Regions from separate parts of the Homo sapiens genome. Here region 1 is linked to region 2. Evidence: promoter capture Hi-C in human tissues and cell types (Jung and others, 2019). All regions are on one chromosome and are shown on one strand. Each heading gives the region's core, a stretch centred on a gene start or on the middle of the fragment in contact. The rest is flanking DNA. Distances are from core to core; before and after follow the strand shown.

Region 1 (6,616 bases), core at 2,240-4,739, 410 kb before region 2:
AATTTTTGCATTTTTAGTAGAGATGGGGTTTCACCATGTTGGCCAGCTGGCCTCGAACTCCTGACCTCAGGTGATCTGCCTGACTTGGCCTTCCGAAGTGCTGGGATTACAGGCGTGAACCACCGTGCCCGGCCTAGATTTCCAGCCCTTTCCTTTAGGAGCTGTGTTTTGTTTGAGCTCCATTCTTGGCATGGTGCCCTGCCCATAAGGGACACCCGTGAATACTTGCTAAATGAATAAATGAATGATGAGAGGTCACACTAAATGTCAGCTTTGTCTTTCCTTCTTCTGAGTGACTATTTCAAACTGTCCCTTTTCTCCCCCTTCCACGCCCATGCCAACCCTCCACACTGCCCCTCTCCCACACCTCAGTTATTGGAGTACTCCTTCAGTTTCCTGTCTCCTCACATTCTGCACCCACAGAATGCTCTCCCTTTTTGTCTAGTCCTCTCTGTCCAAAGGTGGACCTATCCACCTGCCCCTGGATCCCATTCCCACCCCCCGCATCTACCATCCTCTCTGTGGCCCTCTGGGTTTTCCCTCTGTTGGCTCTGTGTTCTAGAAATAACCATGGTCAATGATCTCCCATCTGAAAAACTGCTCCAAACCATATTTTTTATTTTATTTTATTTTTTGAGACAGAGTCTCGCTCTGTTGCCCAGGCTGGAGTGCAGTGGCGTGATCTTGGCTCACTTCAACCTCTACCTTCCGGGTTCAAGCGATTCTCCTGCCTCAGCTTCCTGAGTAGTTGGAATTACAGGCATGCGCCACCAAGCCTGGCTAATTTTTTTTTTTTTTTTTTGTATTTTTAGTAGAGAGAGGGTTTCACTATGTTGGTCAGGCTGGTCTTGAACTCCTGACCTCATGATCCGCCCACCTCAGCCTCCCAAAGTGCTGGGATTACTGGCATGCGCCACCACGCCTGGCCCAAACCACATTTTTAAAAAAGTTCTTTTTTAGAGACTGGGTCTTGCTCTATTGCCCAGCCTGGAGTGCAGTGGTGCAATCACAGCTTGCCGCAGCCTCAGCCTCCTGGGCTCACGTGAGCTTCCTGCTTCAGCCTCCACTCCAGGAGCGAGGACACCCCTGACCATCGCCCCGGGAAGTGCTCTCCTGGTCAGTTTCTGGGCACTCATCTCTCCTGGTTTTCTTTCCTCTCCGACCATCCCTTCTCTGCCCTCTGGTTCACTCCTCTTCCCTCCACTCTTAATGTCTTCTTCCCTGGAGTCCTGCCCTTATCTCACATCCCTTTATGCAGACCCAAGGCTTTCACCTACCACCTGGGCGCTGACAATTTCCTCATCTCTGGCTGGGATCTTTTTCTCCCAAGCCCTATAATTACATGTTAATGTGAATGTTCTACAGGCAACTCAAATGCCAGATGTGCTAAAATGAGTTCTAATCTTTCTCTCCAAACCTGCTCTTCCTCCTGAATCCCTGTCATGGTCAACAGCCTCATCACCCACTCAGGACCTCCAAGTGGGTCATTTCAGGCCCCACCCTTCCTCCAGACCTCACGGCCAATTTGATGTCAGAGCTTGTTGATGATTCCTTCTAATTCTGTCTGGAATCATCTCATCTTCTCCATTCTGCAGAGACTCAGGGCAGGGACGTCTGATTCTTTCACTCTCTGGCTTGAAAGGATGCGGTGGCTCCCACCCCTTCAGGATAAGGTGTTCTTTCTTTAGATCTCTGGAAGGGCCATGGTTTTCCTCAGGGCCAGGATGAGGGTAAACAAGCTGGCACCTAAGGTGTGACGTTTAAGGAGCTTGCCTGCCTGCCTGCCTGCCTGCCTGCCTGCCTTCCTCCCTCCCTCCCTCCCTCCCTCCCTCCCTCCCTTCCTCCCTTCCTTCCTTTCCCTTTCTTTCCCTTTCTTTTCTTTTCTTTCTTGACGGAGTCTCTCTCTGTCACCCAGGCTGGAGTGCAGTGGTCCGATCTCAGCTCACTGCAACCTCTACCTCCTGGGTTCAAGTGATTCTCCTGCCTCAGCCTCCTGAGTAGCTGAGATTACAGGTGTGTGCCACCACGCTTGGCTAGTTTTTTTGTATTTTTAGTAGACATGGGGATTCACCATGTTGGCCAGGCTGGTCTCGAACTCCTGACCTCAAGTGATCCGCCCGCCTTGGCCTCCCAAAGTGGTGGGATTACAGGTGTGAGCCACTATGCTCGGCCAGGAGGTGCCCTTTCTCAGGTCTGTCCAGGTGCCTCCTTGTATTCTGCACCCTGGTTTCCAGATATAACAAAGGGTTTGTTGTGGCAATCCGAGCAGGATGACTGGTGCGGCAGAAGCCATCACATGTGTGTATCAAAGCCCGCTTGCACCACCCTAGTCTTGCTTTTCATGGCTCCATGCCTTTGCATTTGCCATTCTCTCCACTCCAAATGCTCTTACCCCTTCTCTGTCTTACCAACTCCTCCCATCCTTGAAGCCTCGGTTCAAGGGTCACCCTCCTCCCGGCTGCCTTCCCTCACCTCCCCCTCCATCTGAATTACATGATACTCTGTGTCCCTTAATATCCTGTACACCCCTCCATCACAACATCCCCATGGCTGGTTTATTCCCCAACTTCCACCACCGGCCTGGGGCCTTTGAGGTAATGATGGTACATGCCTGCAGTCCCAGCTACTCAGGAAGCTAAGGTGGGAGGATGGCTTCAGACTGGGAAGTGGAGGTTGGAATGAGCCGTAATCATGCCACAGCATTCCAGCCTGGGCGACAGAGTGAGATCCTGTCTCAAAAAAAAAAAAAGTTATCATTAATAATAATAACATTGAGTCCAGGTGCAGTAGTTCGCACCTGTAATCCCAGCACTTTGGGAGGCCGAGGCAGGTGGACCACTTGAGGCCAGGAGTTTGAGACCAGCCTGGCCAACATGGTGAAACCCCATCTCTAATAAAAATACAAAAATTAGCCAGATGTGGTGGTGCACACCTGTAATCCCAGCTACTCTGGAGGCTGAGGCAGGAGAATCGCTGAATATGGGAGGTGGAGGCTGCAATGAGCCATGATTGCACCACTGCACTCTAGCCTGGGCACCAGAGTGAGACTCTGTCTCAAAATAATAATAATAACAGCGTGGGATCCAGAGCCCAGGCTTTAATGGCCTTGCTCTAAAGGCCTACGCTTTCCAGCAGTTAAAACTGATGCCCAGCAGCAGGCAGTGAGGTCTCTGTCACTGTCACTGGAGGTGGTCAAGCCGAAGCTTTGAGGGGAAGGGGCGTGGAGGCCAGTTCTGAGTTTTCATGATTCTGCCTGGCCTCGTCCCACTTTTCTTCTGGTGGGTGGCTGGTGGTAGTGTAGGCACCATCCCACCACCGTGCCCTTGCTTCTGTGTATGAAAGTATCGTGCCTGAGTGATAAAGTCCAAATGCCTTAGCAAGGCATTCGTGACCCCTCTGGATCCGGCCCTGGCTCATCAGTCAGGCTTAATTCTTAGCGTCTCTGGCCTCTACCTTCTGGCTATTGTAAATTATTTGACTTTTCTTTTCTTTTCTTTCAATAGGGACAGGGTCTTGCTATGTTGCCCAGGCTGGTCTCCAACTCCTGGGCTCAAGTGATGTTCCCACCTCGGCCTCCCAAAGTGCTGGGATTACAGGTGCAAGCCACCTCGCCTGGCCTGTTTGACTTTTCTGAAACGTTTCCTGTTCTGTCTCACCTTGAAGTCTTTTGCCCAGGCTGCTGCTTTTTCCTGGCATGCCCCTTTTCCTCTTTTCTGCCTTTTATTAGTATTTTTAGAGTGGGGGGGTTTTGCTCTGTCACCCAAGCTGAAGTGCAGTAGCACGATCATAGCTCACTGCAGCCTTGAACTCCTGGGTTCAAGTGATCCTCCTGCCCCAGCCTCCTGAGTAGCTAGGACAACAGGCATGGGCCATTATTATCATGATTAAAAAAAAAAATTGTGGCCGGGCGTGGTGGCTCACGCCTGTAATCCCAGCACTTTGGGAGGTGGAAATGGGTGGCTCACAAGGTCAAGAGTTGGAGATCATCCTGGCCAACACGGTGAAACCCCGTTTCTACTAAAAATACAAAAATTAGCTGGGCGTGGTGGCGTGTGCCTGTAGTCCCAGCTACTCGGGAGGCTGAGGCAGGAGAATTGCTTGAACCCAGAAGACGGTGGGGGGTTGCAGTGAGCTGAGATCCTGCCACTGCTCTCCAGCCTGGGCAATAGAGCAAGACTCTATCTCAAAAAAAAAAAAAAATTTGCGTAGGGACCAGGGTCTCACTATGTTTTGCCCAGGCTGGCCTTTAACTCCTGGGCTCAAGCAATCCTCTCGCCTTAGCCTCCCAAAGCGCTGGGATTACAGGCATGAGCCACCATGTCTGGCCATTTCCTGCCAATGTCTAACAATCTTTCCTGTCCCCTCCTCCAGAAAGGCTTGGTGCTCAGGTCTGGGTGAGGTCTGTGTGCCTTCCTAGCCCCGCTTGTGAGGCCCTCTGTAGCACATGGTATCAATATTGGCTTTTTTCTTTTCTTTCTTTTCTTTCTTTCTTTCTTTTTTTTTTTTTTCAGACAGAGTCTTCTGTGTCACCCAGGCTGGAGTGCAGTGGCGCAATCTTGGCTTACTGCAACCTCCACCTCCTGGGTTCAAGCAATTTTCCCTGCCTCAGGAGTAGCTGGGATTACAGGCATCTGACACCACGCCCGGCTAATTTCTATATTTTAGTGGAGACAGGGTTTTGCCATGTTGGCCAGGCTGGAACTCATAACCTCAGATGATCCACCCACCTCGGCCTCCCAGGGTGCTTGGGATTACAGGCGTGAGCCACTGCACCCGGTCCCGACATTGCCTCTTAATGCACAGCTGGTGCTTCTTGGAGCTCACTAGTTCTGGGCCCTGTTCTGAGCACTTTAGATGACTTACCTCCTTGAGTCCCCAATACAGCCTTGTTTTACAAATGAAGAAATGGGGGCTCAGAGAGATTCCGGTTACAGAGTGTCTTACTTATGTCCTATGTTGCCTAGCAAATCACTACCACCTGGCAGCTTCAGACAACACACATTCCCTATCTCTGTGTCCATGGCTCACAGTCTGGGTATGGCTTAACAGGGTCCTTCCCTCTGGGTGTCACCAGGCTGCAGCCAGGTATTGTCTAGGCTATGTTTGCATCTGGAGCTTGGGGTCATCTTCCGAGCGTGTTCAGGTTGTTGGCAGAATTTGGTCCTTGCTGCTATGGCACTGGGATCCTCGGCTCCTAGAAACCGCCCCTCCCCTCACAGCATGGCTTTCTGCCCCATGGCCAGCAGGAGGTGCTCTCTCTATTTAGGAAGGCCCAGTCCCTTCCTTCGTGGCTTTCACCTGATTAAGCCAGGCCCACCCAGGATCATCTACCTTTTATTATTTATTTATTTTTTTGAGACAGAGTTTTGCTCTGTCACCCAGGTTGGAGTGCAGTGGCATGATCTCGGCTCACTGCAACCTCCACCTCCCAGGTTCAAGCAATTCTCCTACCTCAGCCTCCCGAGTAGCTGGGATTTTAGGTGTGCACTACAATGCCCACCTAATTTTTGTATTTCTACAAAGAGATGGGGTTTCACCATATTGGCCAGGCTGGTCTGGAACTCCTGACCTCAAGTGATCTGCCCACTTCGGCCTCCCAAAATTCTGGGATTACGGGCATGAGCCACTGCGTGCCCGGCCTCATCTCCCTTTTTAATGAACTCAAAATCATCCGATTTGGGATCTTAATTACATCTGCAAAATCTCTTAACTGTTTCCAGAAAAGATCATCTAATTATGAGCGTGATGGTCTCTCATCTTCGCAGGTCCCCTCCATGTTCTAGGGGAAGGATTCAACAGGGTGTGTACACCAGTGGATGGGAATCTTAGAGGCTATATTAGAATTCTACCTGCCACACACAGCTAGCAAGTGGCAGCTCCAATACTCAAATGCAGCTCTTCTGACTTAGAAGTCTATGCCTTCAATCCAGCTGAGGCAAAGGATACAAGAACTAAGAAACTGGCAGGTCTTAGGAGGACCAAACTGGGTATAGTATGTGAAGTGTCTAGCACAGTGCCTGGACCACAGTGGAGGCTCCATTCTTGCAGTGGCCATCCCCAAAGGCCAAGATGGTGGCTTTGATACTCTGTCTTGATCCTTGGAGCAGCCCTGAGGTGAGTGAATTGCAGCAGATTCTTTGGCTGTTTGGTTTGAATTCTGCACCTGGCTAGAAGAGAAAGCCCAATAGAAATGCCTTCTTGGCCAGGTGCAGTGGCTGACGCCTGTAATCCCAGCACTTTGGGAGGCTGAGGTGGAAGATTGCTTAAGCCCAGGATTTTGAAACCACAGTGAGTTATGATTGCACCACTGGACTCCAACTTGGGCAATAGAGCGAGATCTTGTCATTCATTCATGTACACATACATACATACATGGGGTTCTCCTTAAATAGGCAGATAAAAAACATTTATCTAAACTATCTTCCTAATCCTCAAATAAAAGCATACACATATAAAAGCTATAAATAAAGCCCAAAGACAGAAGAGGAAATAACAAATCAGTCAACAAAATATTGGAAAATAAAAAGTGAACAGGCTGGGCATGGTGGCTCACGCCTGTAATCCCAGCACTGTGGGAGGCCATGGTGGGCAGACTGAGCCCAGGAGTCTGAGACCA
Region 2 (6,163 bases), core at 3,121-5,620:
AGGGGCGGAGCCGGCCGACACCTGCGCCAGAGCCGCGGAGCACCTGAAGCCTTCGCCTCACTCCCCCACTCTCAGTCCAGGTGGCCCGGCCGGGCCCTGCCGGCGCCGCCAGGACAAAGCGCCCTTGTGAAGGCCGCCTCCCGCCCGGGAGCTGGCGAGGGGCCCCAGACGCGGGCGGCCTAGGCTGCCTGGGCAGGGCCGGGGATCCCCACTCTTGTCCAGATCGTCGTGATTGTGCCCGGGCGCACCGGCCTGGAGCTCGTCTTTCCTCCCTCTCCCCCGCGCACCCCATAGCAGGCCAGGGAATGGGTGGGGGGCGCTCTGGACCCTAAACCAGCACAGCGTGCCAGGCCCTGTGCTAAGGATTTAATCACCCTCGATTAATCCCATGATGCGGGCTAATTCTCCCCCGGAGAGTTTAAGTGACCTGTTAGACAAGAACACCCTCCGGCCCCTCCCGTCTCAAGCGGCCCCACTCCGTTCCCCAGGCTCTGCGCTGCAGAAGCAGCTTTCTTGCTCCTCCTCCGGAAGGGTCTCCCGCCCCAGGACTTGCCCTTGACGTTCCTTCTGGCAGCGGAGCCTCCCAGGGCTGGCTAGCACTCATGGAAAGTTGAAGTTGTTTGCTTGTTTATTGCAGGTCTCCCTCCCAGAATGTAAGCTGCTCACCGGACTGGAACCTTGTCTGTCCAGTCCCCAGTGCCCAACCAGGGCCTGCACATACCAAGTGCTCAATACCTGTTGAAAGTGGATTGGAATGAGAATCTCCCCTCCCATGACCTGGAAAGGGGGCTCAGGCTGTGTCATTTGCCCAACTTCTGGCTGCAAAAAGTGAGGCAAACTCAAAAGAAGCTGTGGAAAGCAGCCCAACCTGAGACCCCCTTTCTCTGGGAGATGGGGAAGGTCAGGCTTTGGGTCTCTGGAGGGCAGGGATAATGGTTGCTATGGAGACTGATGGTGGCTCCTTGTGCACCCAGAAATTGAGAAGGGCCATGCACTGGCCACTCAGGCGTCTGGAGCTTGAGCCTCCAGCCTCCCTGATCTTCATCTGTAGCCTAAAGCTGGGGTGGGGAAATGTGATTCCCTCTCCAGGACCCTCAACAGAGACGGTTTGTGGGGGTTAAACATGTGAGACCAGGCCAGAACAGTGGCTTATGCCTGTAATCCCAGCACTTTGGAAGGCCAAGGCAGGTGGATTGCTTGAGCCCAGGAATTTGAGACTAGCCTGCTCAATGCGGCCAAACTGTATGACTGCAAAAAATACAAAAATTGCTGGGCGTGGTGGCATGTGCCTAGTACTTGGGAGGCTGAGGTAGGAGGACTACCTGAACCCAGGAGGTCAAGCCTGCTGTGAGTTGTAATCACACCACTGCACTCCAGCCTGGGTGACAGAGTGAGACCTTGTCTCTAAAAACAAACAAACACCATATGGGATCCATAGTTGGGTGCTGGCCCAGGATGAGTCTTCAATAAAGGGGCTGGGGGAGTCAGTGCAGGAAGCTGGGTCTGCAGATCTCACTGTAGTCACTCACAATGTTGGCCCTTCTTCTGGCTCAACCTCACCACTCAGGGAAACTGAAGTGCTGAGATACCTGCTAGGCCCCCAAGGGGTTGTTCTGGGGGCGTGGAGGGAGAAAGAGGGACACGTATGGGCATATAAACAGGTGCTGTTCCTCTTGGCCTAAGACCCATTTTGACCCAGCTCTGCCCAGGACTTTGCTGTGTGACCCTATTAGACGAGTGAGGCTCCATCTCTGGGCCTCTGGTACTCTCGTAGGTAAATGTTGGACTGGTCTACCTCTCTTCCCCTGTGACTTGGGGCAAACTGAAGGAGAGAGGATACGGCTCAATCTGCCCAAAGGTCCTTCCAGCCCAACAAAGACGGCCAAGCCCAGGCAGGGGGCCAGGGAGCAGGGGAGGGGCCTCCTGCACACACCGCAACTCTTTGTCTCTGGGCCCTAATCCGGCCTGGGATCTAGAGAGGAAATTCAGGCAGCCCTGCTGCTGCCAAGCTGGCTAGACCCATGCTCCCCTTCCCAGTTCTGCAGGGAGGGAGAAGAAACTGGTTCCAGCCCAAGCCCCTTCCTATTCTGTCCTGGGGAGTCTGCCCCTCTCCCCTCCACACCTTGCTCTCAGAATCAGGACCTCCAGCCCAAGGAGTGCTGAAGAACCTCAAATTCTCTCTCTGTACCCTCTCCACAGCTGCAGAGGGAGGGCTGGAGGAGTGGCCAAACTGGAGGTTTGAGGAACAAGTTCACTAAGGTGTTGGTGCACAGCAGGGCCCTGCAGGGCTCAGTGGCTCACACCTATAATCCCAGCACTTTAGGAGGCTGAGGTAAGCGGATCACCTGAGGTCAGAAGTTCGAGACCAGCCTGGCCAACATGGCGAAACCTCGTCTCTACTAAAAATACAAAAATTAGTCAGGCGTGGTGGCGGGCGCCTGTAGGCCCAGCTAATCGGGAGGCTGAGGCAGGAGAATTGCTTGAACCTGGGAGGCAAAGTTTGCAGTGAGCTGAGATTGCACCATTGCACTCCAGCCTGGGCGACAGTGAGACTCCGTCTCAAAAACAAACAAACAAACAAACAAAAAACAAGGTGGGGCAGAGGAAGGGAGAAGGAGCCTCACCTTGAGGGCCCTGAGCCTAGGTCCTAATCCCAGTTGCTAACTGGCCTTATGACCAAGGAGCCTCAACATGTCACAGCTTTTGTGGGCTGTGGGCAGTAGGAGAGAGGGCACTGCCACTGGAGACCTGCGCTGTGGCCTCTTTGGCCAGTGCCTTGCTGTGCCATGTGGGACAAATCCTTTCCCCTCCTTATTGGGCCCTAATTTCCCATCTGTGAACAGTTCATAGCAACTTGGGGCTGCTGGGAGGAGGGCAAGCAAGCCTGGAACCCAGAGCGTGGCCAGAAATGATGTCGACGATGCCCATGACCACCTCCTCTGTTCTCCAAGACCTTTGCCTCTCCTCAGGCCCCTGGTCACCTTTCCCTGGGTCTTCGTTCTTTGATGTGAGAAGAGGGCAGCTTTAATCCCCCACCTGATAGAGAAGAAAACTAAGCTGTGGAGTAGGGTGGAGTGAGGGAGTGGAAGGAAGGTTGTGGTTTCCTGGTGAGGTGTGATGCTTAGACCTGGTCTCTAAAAATAAAATTAAAGTTAAAAAAAATGAATTAAAAAAAACCGCCTAGTCTCTGAGGTCAGAAAAGACCAACACTCAAATTTTGGCTGGGCGTTCTTAAAAGGATGCTTTCTTCATCTGGAGATATCTGGTGGAGAGGATTAGGTAAAATAATGTATTACTATTCTCAGGGTACCATAAATCCGCTGGCCCGCTCCCTCAGGCCACTGGCCCACGGCTCCACCCATGTCACGCCCCTTTCCCCGCAGCCAATCAGCGCTACCTCCCCAGAGCGCCCGTTCCCTCCACCACTCGCCGCAGATCTCCCGGTGCCACCCGTTCCAGGGAGGCTGCTTGGTTTGGGAAGATACTCCCCAGGGGTCTCCCCTTCCCTTGGGGGCGCAGCTGAGGACTGCGAGGTGCGTCCGAGGGCCAGAAAGCTGAGATCGATTCTGAGTTCAAGGATCAAGTCTGCCCTCAAACCATTTTACAGATCGGGAAATCCGAGACCCAGAGAAGGGATACTCCCGCCCAAGGGCCACCGAGCCGAGAGAAGCCCGGGCCAGGGCTTTCTTCGCGTATGTGGGAATGCAGGCGCGAGCCCTTTGGGGGGCACAGTCCATACGGGAGCTGAGGCCGAAGCCGGAGCACTAACTGTGCTGTCTAGGGGATCGAGACGGCACTAGAGGGCTGGACTCCTTACTGCCTCAGTTTCCCCAGCACTACCTTTGTTGAGGAAACGGAGATGGGGATACTGGCCGAACGCGCGCCTGCTGAGACACAGTGCAACTGTATTTAGACGCCCCGCACCTCCCCAAATCTGATCGAGGCTCCTTTTTTCAAGCACCCGCTATCTCTCAGCCCTTTAAAATCCGGCCCTGCCGTTCGAGTCTCTCGGCGTTCCATTGGAAAGACTCGGGGCTCCAGCTCCCTTCTCTAGAATGAACTGCTCTGACTGCCGCCCGGCTTTACCGGAGCTTTAACTGCGCAGGCGCAAGGGCAGCCAACCCGGTAAACGGAAGAGCTGGGTGCTGACGGCGCTGGGCGGGTCAGGGGCGGAGAGCGTGCTAACCAATGACTTGAGGGAGTAGGGGGCCGGGTTTGGGCCCTCAGTTGCTAAGGGCTACCCGAGTGGGAAGCGGTTCAAGAGATGGGGTGAAGGGTGGTTCACCGGTTCTTCAAGTCCTCAGCCTTCTGGCCCGCGGAAGTTAAGCAACCAAGAGGCGGGCCTAAGACCGGAAGCAGGAAGGAGGGCGCAGGAAGCAGGGCGCCGCAGCCTGTCGTACGGTCCTTCTGTGGGTCTGTCGGTGCCGAGGGCAGGATGGAGAAGCTGCGGCTCCTGGGCCTCCGCTACCAGGAGTACGTGACTCGTCACCCGGCCGCCACGGCCCAGCTGGAGACAGCAGTGCGGGGCTTCAGTTACCTGCTGGCAGGTGCCACCCTGACCTTTGATCAGTTCCTTCTGGGCCCTGACCTATGACCCCAGTGGCCCCCTTCCCTGCGGAGTCAGGGTAGTGATCGCTGTGCTTGAGAAGACCCGTCCAGGTTCCCAAAGGGCGTAGGGAGGGGATTTCCGGGACCCGAAGACGAAATGTGAGGCAGATGCTCACTCACACCTCCTTCTGTACCCTCTCCCCAGGTCGATTCGCCGATTCGCACGAGCTGTCAGAGCTGGGTGAGCCGGGCTCTGGGGGTGGGGGATGGGGGATCGGCTGCCTGGCCCCTGGTGAGTTCCCCAGAGAGGGTGAGCACCCCAGCCCGAGGACCTGGGCTGCCCGTTAGACACCTTGTGCTATGACTGAATCGGCACAAGGTCTGTTGTTCATTGTCCTGGGCCCTCCATGTCCCTAAGTCAAGAGACACGTCTGGGGACCTTATCTGAGTATTCACTACTGGCCAGGCGCTGGACTAAGTGCCTTTCTTACCTTTACTTGTTAATCCTCCCTACAGTCATATTAAGTGGTACTTATTGTCATCACTGTCCATTTAAGGAAGAAGCTCAGTGAGGTTAGAGAACAGTCACTGATGGTCCCAGAACCAAGATTCAAGTCTAGATCTCCCAGATTCCAGGATTCCCAGATTGTAACTACCTCAAGAGTGTTTGCCCAGTGACTGCTGTCACAGTCCTGAAAGAATGCACTGGGTTTTGAAAAGCAGAGGTGAGGCCAGGTGCAGTGGCTCACACTTGTAATCCCAGCACTTTGGGAGGCAGAGGCAGGTGGATCACGTGAGGTCAGGAGTTCGAGACCAGCCTGGCCAACATGGTGAAACCCCATCTCTACTAAAAATACAAAAATTAGCTGGGCATGGTAGCAGGTGCCTGTAGTCCCAGCTACTTGAGAGGCTGAGGCAGGAGAATTGCTTGAACCTGGGAGGCAGAGGTTGCAGTGAGCCGAGATTGTGCCATTGCACTCCAGCCTGGGCAACAAGAGTGAAACTCCGACTCAGAAAAAAGAAAAGTGGAGGTGGAATAGACCCTCAGGAACAGGCTGCCAAGAGAGAAAGGGCCAGGAGGTGGGACCGTGTATCTGTGGCAGTTCAGAGAGCGATGGGCAGTTGTGGGCAGCTGGATGACCAGTGCCATCCAGCAGGGCAGTAACTGGCTTGTCACTGAGATTGACCCATCCTTTCTTGGTCCAGCCACCCTTGTGAGATCATGTTGGGGAGAGGGGAGTGCTGAGGAAGTGGGTGGAGAAGAAGGTTGGTTTCCACATAGTCTGTGGGTGTCTGAGCAGAGCATGTGACAGGTGATCCCTGCAGCTCTGGGGAGAAGGTGAGAGGGATGGAGGCTGCAGAGCCAGCCTCTCAAGGCCACTCTCTACCCCTCAGTGTACTCTGCCTCTAACCTGCTTGTGCTGCTCAATGACGGGATCCTACGGAAGGAGCTTCGGAAAAAGTTGCCTGTGGTGAGAATTCTGCCAAGAACAGGGTGGGAAGCATGGGGACTCAGGAATGAAATAGTAGCAGCTAGCCCATGCGTGCAGCACATGTCTCATGGAGTATGAGACAGGCCTATGTCCATCTGAGCCTCAAACCATCTCATTAGGTG

The links. The method cuts DNA at HindIII sites, captures the fragments that hold promoters and counts their contacts. A contact is called where the count stands out against the background at its distance.
Region 1: a contact is called between a fragment that was not itself captured here and the fragment with the promoter of PEX16 in region 2, in 1 of the 25 tissues and cell types used here (dorsolateral prefrontal cortex).

What each region holds. Positions count from the first base shown.
Region 1 is chr11:46,321,595-46,328,210 of GRCh38, reverse strand. No RefSeq gene overlaps it. Among named protein-coding and RNA genes, the nearest start is that of DGKZ, 23 kb to the left of the region's middle. The HindIII fragment of the contact is 5,989 bases long and covers 495-6,483 here.
Region 2 is chr11:45,916,084-45,922,246 of GRCh38, reverse strand. PEX16 (peroxisomal biogenesis factor 16) reads left to right here and starts at 4,370. Exons shown (of 11, transcript NM_004813.4): 1 at 4,370-4,547; 2 at 4,754-4,789; 3 at 5,944-6,020. The coding sequence starts at 4,436. It also overlaps a transcript of LARGE2 not described here. RefSeq lists enhancers at 4,546-4,615, 4,562-5,314. The HindIII fragment of the contact is 33,493 bases long and covers 1-6,163 here.